Regions from separate parts of the Homo sapiens genome. Here region 1 is linked to region 2. The links are contacts of gene promoters, found by promoter capture Hi-C in human tissues and cell types (Jung and others, 2019). All regions are on one chromosome and are shown on one strand. The core of a region is centred on a gene start or on the middle of the fragment in contact, and the rest is flanking DNA. Distances in the headings are between cores, read along the strand shown. Region 1 overlaps KCNH8 (potassium voltage-gated channel subfamily H member 8). Region 2 holds the start of KCNH8 (potassium voltage-gated channel subfamily H member 8).

The links. The method cuts DNA at HindIII sites, captures the fragments that hold promoters and counts their contacts. A contact is called where the count stands out against the background at its distance.
Region 1: a contact is called between a fragment that was not itself captured here and the fragment with the promoter of KCNH8 in region 2, in 2 of the 25 tissues and cell types used here (dorsolateral prefrontal cortex and hippocampus).

The regions. Positions count from the first base shown.
Region 1 is chr3:19,230,788-19,234,286 of GRCh38, reverse strand. All of the region lies in intron 1 of KCNH8 (potassium voltage-gated channel subfamily H member 8), which reads right to left. Among named protein-coding and RNA genes, the nearest start is that of MIR4791, 82 kb to the left of the region's middle. RefSeq lists an enhancer at 1-453. The HindIII fragment of the contact is 4,114 bases long and covers 1-3,362 here.
Region 2 is chr3:19,146,840-19,150,418 of GRCh38, reverse strand. It overlaps KCNH8 (potassium voltage-gated channel subfamily H member 8), which reads right to left and starts at 1,909. Exons shown (of 16, transcript NM_144633.3): 1 at 1,624-1,909. The coding sequence starts at 1,699. RefSeq lists enhancers at 2,467-3,060, 3,061-3,579 and a silencer at 3,348-3,519. The HindIII fragment of the contact is 8,005 bases long and covers 1-3,579 here.

The sequences.
Region 1 (3,499 bases), core at 56-2,555, 84 kb before region 2:
TGCCGGCCCACAGCGCGGGACTGGCAGGCAGCTCCACCTGCAGCCCCGGTGCGGGATCCACTAAGTGAAGCCAGCTGGGCTCCTGAGTCTGGTAGGGACGTGGAGAACCTTTGTGTCTAGCGCAGGGATTGTGAACGCACCAAACAGCGCCCTGTCAAAACAGACCACTGGGCCCTACCAATCAGCAGGATGTGAGTGGGGCCAGATAAGAGAATAAAAGCAGGCTGCCGGTGCCAGCAGTGGCAACCTGCTGGGGTCCCCTTCCACACTGTGGAAGCTTTGTTCTTTTGCTCTTTGCAATAAATCTTGCTGCTGCTCACTCTTTGGCTCCACACTGCCTTTATGAGCTTTAACACTCACCGCGAAGGTCTGCAGCTTCACTCCTGAGCCAGTGAGACCACGAACCCACCAGAAAGCAGAAACTCCGAACACATCCGAACATCAGAAGGAACAAACTCCAGACACGCCGCCTTTAAGAACTGTAACACTCACCGCGAGGGTCCATGGCTTCATTCTTGAAGTCAGTGAGACCAAGAACCCACCAATTCCAGACACAAAATTACCTAGCGTGTACATCTTTGACACGTGAGAGGAAACCAGAGTACCCAGAGAAAATCCACACAAGAGAACAAGCCAACTCCACACAGACAGTGGCCCAGGCTGGGAACTGATGTTTTTTTCTCATCAATGTTATAATAAATGACTTGAATGAAACAATATTATTCAAGGATCTGCTGTACATCTATTTGCTCCAATTGAACTACTCAACTGTAGGATAAACTCTAACAGTTTATCCATTCATGAAAGAATATTTAACTTCTTTCCTTCCTTCCTATCTTCTTTTCTTTCCCTATAATAAACAAAGCAGCAAAGCACAGAAGCATAAGTTCTAGAGTTTCTTGAAGCTCACTGTAAGCATTATAACCTATAAAAACACTACATGCATTTTTGTAAAATATTTGTCCAGTAATTATTCCAATTGTTTCATGTTTCTAGGTAGATTTAACAAATAATACTAGTGACTCTTCTGCTACAAACTTTTCACTGATTAAAAAGTCCCTCACCTACTATTGTGTCCTGAAACTGGCACCCACTCAGTGTGCTGACAGTAGCAATAAGATCAAATCAAAGTTATTTTCAACAGTATCAAGAATTAACAGCTCCAGACAGAGATGGCTGCCATTTAAGATAACAGCTCAATTTATGTAGTGGGGTGGGGGGGGGGAGGAATATCAAGACATTGAGGTGTAGGGATAAGAGACAAGTAGCATTTTAATCAAAACATTAGAAAATGGCCAAGCACTACTAATAGGGGACTTATTTAGGTTGAATCATAGAAAATTGCCATTTTATGTGTCAAACATCAGCAATATATAAAAATCAGCTGTTCCTCATGCTTTGAATTTGGCAACAGCATGAATAGTATTCTCTGAAATGGCCAAGAACTATTTCTGAGACCTGTAGCTACACGTGACCCATGCCAATTGAGATTTGGATGTGTTCCCAGGTGCTACAGGGCATCTTTCATACCATACCTCTCAGATGCTTCATACAATTCTCATACACTCATCCTTTACCCAAGAGCTGCTATCCCAGGTTGGGCATTTGTGCATTTCACAAAGAATCTAAGCCAAACGGGAAACAGTGTGCCAGTGACTAACCTTGCACCCCAGGATCCACTCAAGGAGATTCTTTTTCCTAACTGATTTGTCCACCAGGAGTACCTTTTTCTAATTTTTACAAAAGCATCCTATAGGCTAATTCCTGATCACTTTTTGAATTCTATACAAGCTTGGACATTAAAGCATAAGATTAGCTAGGTAAGAAAACAGTGGGCTGAAGTTTCATAACACGTGCAAATAGAAACTCTCCTTTATTGTATTGGATCCTTGGTTTTCTTGTAGCTAAGATTTTCTACATCAAACATCCCTTTGATGAAAATGTTGAGGGATTTTCTCCAGATTCTCAGTGAAGGATATGGTTGAGGAAATAAAACCAAGAGTCAGATTATCTTCTTGGCAACCAAGCACAGATGACGTATTCAAGTTACATTAGGACATTTGCAATCTATTGATTGAAGTAAATAAATCTGGAAGGTGTGTCTTGTTTGCTAATCATGCAAGAGGCTTCCATGTGATCCTGAATTTTTCTTTGAAAAGGAAAAAAACACTAATTCCTGTCAATTATTTTCACACTAAAAAATACATTCCAATCAAGATACAGCAGCAAACATTTCAAATGCATAATTCAAAGATTGTGAAAGCAATTCAGCATAGTGACCTCTGAATTGAGCTAGAGGCTGTGTATTCTCTTTTGGTGTCAGGTCTCAAAACTCGCGGCAATTAATTTGATGTATTGATTTAATATTTCAGGAAGGAATGTATTTACCTGGCAAAGGCACTGTGAAAGATGTTTTGAAGAGAAAAGAAATGTTTGCAAATGAAGACAAGCTCCTTTGATGAAAGGAAAGCTGAGAGTGAGTAGCATTCACAGAATCAGACCCCAAACACTTATTACTTCAAGGCTCGATTTCCCAAATTAGAGCTAATAATGATTCAGCATTGCACTGTTGGATACTTCATTCTGTAAAAGAATACCATGGGGTAGAAAGGAAGCCATGCAACAGATATGATCTTGTAGGCTGGCCCATTAAGAGAGGGTTATTTAAACTAGAGCTAAATTAGAAAGAACCATTTCAACACTATATACCTAAGCCAGCAGTTTTGGAAAAAAGATGCCATCTCTCTTTTTCAATATATAAATTTACTATTACTTTTTAAATTGTCTGTTCTGATTATATAAATAAGAAAGTACTAAATAAAATATAAAATGTAAATGTAAAAAAAGTATAATTCCATTATACAAAGACCACCAGATTTTCTCTCATCTTTCTTATTTACTCAAAAGAAGTTACAGTTTATCTACAACATACCGAGCATTATGCACAATAAGGACACTACACTAGTGAATGACACAATCCTTTCCCTTGGATTTGTTTGGTGTAGTGGGGAACATGCATAAATAAAAAGGAAAACATAGTACATTTTAATCAGTGTTATCATAGAAGTATAGAGGTGTATATGCATATTATATATTAATAAATCAAATTTTTAAGAAAATAGTTCTTCTTTTTCAGTTAATGTAATATGTTCCCCCAAGATAGCAGATATACATTTTTAACATCATGTTATTGATTGCAAAATAGCCCACACCTTGGATATACTATAGTTACTATACTATAGTAACATAATTGGATATAGTATGTTAGCCATTTTCTTATACTTATTTGTTCAGATTTTTTAAAATTTTTCATTCATATCTAACATGATGATGAACGCATTTTACATCTTTCTTAAGGCAAATTCCTAGAAGTTAAAAGTTTTGATTCAAATGGTAAGGACATTTCCAAAACTCTTGGCACATATTGCAAATTTGCGTTCCGAAGAACGAAAGCATTGTGCCAAATTACATGCCCACCAGGAATGGAACCTTATGAAAG
Region 2 (3,579 bases), core at 660-3,159:
TCAATAGACAAATTCAGGATCAATGTTTACAGCCTTTTAGTTTTGGATGTTCAACTTCAAAAAAAAAAACATCCACATTAAACTGATCAGTACCTCAGGTAATGAATAGTAAAATAGTAGTATCCGCCATCATGCATGGTAAAACACAGCAGTGGTGATTTTGTGTGGCGCTTCAGTGGTGTGGTAGTGGCAATGGCAGGGACTTGAAGTTTTCCTATAATATTTATCATTATTATCTAAAAAAGACATACGTAATAACATTACACCTCATACATAACATCTAACACATTTAGAATATAAAAGGGAAAAGAATGGCTAGATGTAAAGATAAAAACACTTATGAAGTGACCAAATATCCACACCAACTACCATGATTAGACTAGATGTCAAAAATAAAAACTGAACAAAATTAAAGTGATTCATTTCTTTCTCATGTAAACTTTTCCAACTATCCCTGAAGCATAAGTCCAAGACTTGCTTCCCACCCAAAGATAAGACTGTGTATTTAGACTACTGGAGTGGAAATGAAATTAGTATTGCTCTCCCATATCAGCTCCAAGAAATATACAGAGTAAAAGCAATGACACTTGAACCACTAAGAAGGACTTTAGGATAAATGAGTTTCTCTGAGTCTCAACAGAAAAATGGAAGACAGTGCACAGAAGCAAGATAAGCTAGAAAGAAGATGAGGATATTCGTAGTGAAACCAACTGAGAGCATTTGTTAGGGGTGGTAGTACAGACTCCTAATTACAGGGTTAAAGCCAGCTAGGAAGATCCACAGGGTCAAGTAGAGAGCTTGAAAAGCCTGAGAAGGAGTGGGGACCTGACCGTGGTCCTGAAAGAGAACAACTTGCAGATGATAACGAACCGTCTGCTAGCAACCACACAACATCCTATCTATTTTTTTTCCTACTGTAGCTTAAATGAGCTAAATGTCCAATAATATTCGTACTCAAAAAAAAAAAACTAAAAACTTTCTCTTATCATCAAATCGTCTTTATTCATGTCCTTCTTCCTGAACAGCCTCTGCTTGAGTGTTAGGCTCATTTAAGGATTAAAAGATACGCTATTCTAGCTCAAAAGCAGGAATCAAGGTTCTGACAAACTCACAACACTTAAAATTCTACAGAAAGCTTACACTTGGCAATCCTGCATTTCTTAAACTCAGATAGAAAATCATACCTATCCGAAATATATCACGGAATGAAGCTCCAAGAAAGAACACTCCAAGCTCTCCTTTTGATCTAGGGAGCCTTGAAACTCTAGAAAGATTAGGTACACCGATATTCCCCTTTTCACCTCAGAAAATTACAACCAATTCCCTAAAGATACACCAAAATGCAGGTCCCACAGTGAATACGGGCGTCGGTCTTTCCTCAGGCTGCGTTTCAGTCCTTAACAAACCCAAGAACTCAAGAGAGCCAACTATTACACCAATACAAAGTGTTAATACTACACCAAACCATGAGGGAACAAATTTCTCCGCACAAAAGATACCTTGGCAAGAACAGAAGAAAATTCACTCCGCTGGTGCAAAAGGGAAGGTGGGAGCAAAAGTAATGTGTACGAGAAAAATCAGTCTCAGAAAATGCCATACCACTCGTTCAAGTGTAAGACTTACGTGTTCCGTCAAAACGGGTGGCGATGGTGTCCAGGAAGGTGTTTTGCGGCGCCAGTAATCCTTTCATAACCGGCATTTTTCCAGCGTGGTGTGAAATTCTCCATCAAAGTTTGTCCAGAAGGATGGTTCGAAAGGAAAGTGCCAAGAAGGGAGAAGGGGAACCTGATGACGGCAGGGAAGGGGGACCCGGCCTGACGGCGGGGCCGAGCAGGGGAAGTGGAAGGATGGAGGGAGAAAGGGAGAGAGTTCCAGCCGCCCCGGCTGTGGCAGGAGGAGCCCCAAGAGCGCTCCCCGAGCCCGCCCCGCACCTCCAGGCTCAGCCCGGCGCAGGCTCCCTCTCCCGCCCCCTCCACCCCCGCCAGCTGCTGAAACCCCCCCACCGTCCCTCCGCGGGCAACAGTGCCCGCCAGGCGCCGCCGCGCGGTGCCTCGCCCCCCACGTCGCCCGCCCGGAAAGAGCCCGCAGTGGCCCGGGGCGCCGCGCCCTGACCGACGTCTCTGGGGTCTGGGAGGGCGGCGCTGAGAGCTGGGAGAGGCGCTGAGCCTCCCGGTCTCCACGGGACGCCGGGAAAGGAGAGCGAGCGCAACTCCCACGCCCCGGGAGCCAGTGAACAAAGACCCCTTTGTTCCCTCTCCGTCCCACTCCCGGGGAGACTGGAGTCCCGTGGGTGTGGTATTGGAGAAAGGGAGGAGACAGGTCGGGGCAGGTATCCGGCCTCAACCTAGAACTTAGGAGGGGGAGGCCCCCCAGTGGTGTCCAAGGGAGCAGAGGCAGCCAGGAGCCCCACGGGGAGGCGGCCCCCTTCCGGAGCACTTGCCATTGCGAGCCCACGCGACAGGGGCAGGGCAGCCCGAGTTAGTTGTGAGGCCCATCCCCAGTCACCAGGGTCTTTTAGTCCGGGAAACTGGCCCCGAGCTCCAAAAAGGGGTGCTTCAGCCCTTCTCCCCAAATTGCCATTGGCCTCCCCAAGCCATCCCAAACTTTAAAAAAATAGCCTTTTGAACGGACAATGGATGGTTTCCCATTCTCCGGTAAAATGTGAATAAAGCATTTCTAGAAAAGTTTGCTATTTTTATTAATTTGCAAAATACCACGTAAGTAAAAACAGTAAGGCTGCCTTCCAAAAATAGCTTCAAACACAAATCCCCTAGCCTGCCCCCCTTTCCCCAGCCCCCACTCCCGAAGACTGACACCTCCAAGAAGAAAGCCTGGCGGACGGCCAGGAACTGAAGGCGTCTCAGAAAACGAAAGTGGTCTCTCCCAGTCCTCCCCCCTGGCCCCCCCCGCGGGGACTCCCTCTCGGCCAACGTTCTGCGGGGAAAGTCGCCCAAGCCTGCGGCACAGCCCTGTGGGGAGTGCAAGGGGACACCCAGAGCCCGAACTTTATAGAAAACTCTGCAAGGGAGGTGGAGTGTGGAAGGGAAGTTGAGAGCCCCAGGGTAGAAAAACAAACGTAAGCCCAGGTGCTAGTGCACCCGGAAGGAAAGGAGGGAAAAAGCAAACAGGTGTCAGAGCCGCGGCGAGGCAGCTCTGATCTCCAGGAACTCGGGCGTGGCGGGAGGAGGGAGGGAGGGCCCACCCCCCGCCCCCTTACTAAGGGGGTTTCTTGTTTCAATTATCTCGGCTGTTGGGGCTTCGGGGGGGACCCCGCGGGTTTCGTCACGTCTGCCTTGGGCTCCGGGAGGGAGGGGGAGAAGAGAGAGAAGCGGCATCCCCCTCTCCCCGCCCCCAGGCCCCCTTTCTCGTGATGCACTTCCTGCGGCCGAGGATTCCCTTTGTGTTGAAATTCGAGAAGATCCGGCAGAGGCTCTAGGCTAGCTGGGCGGGGGCGCGCCGGGGAGGGGACAGGATTCCGGAGTGGGCGGCGCGGGGCGGCCATCCCAGAAGAGAAGCTACCAACGTGGGGTTCCTCGCCCAGCTGCACCCTGCTTCTGCCGCAGGTCCGTCCCTGTCCTC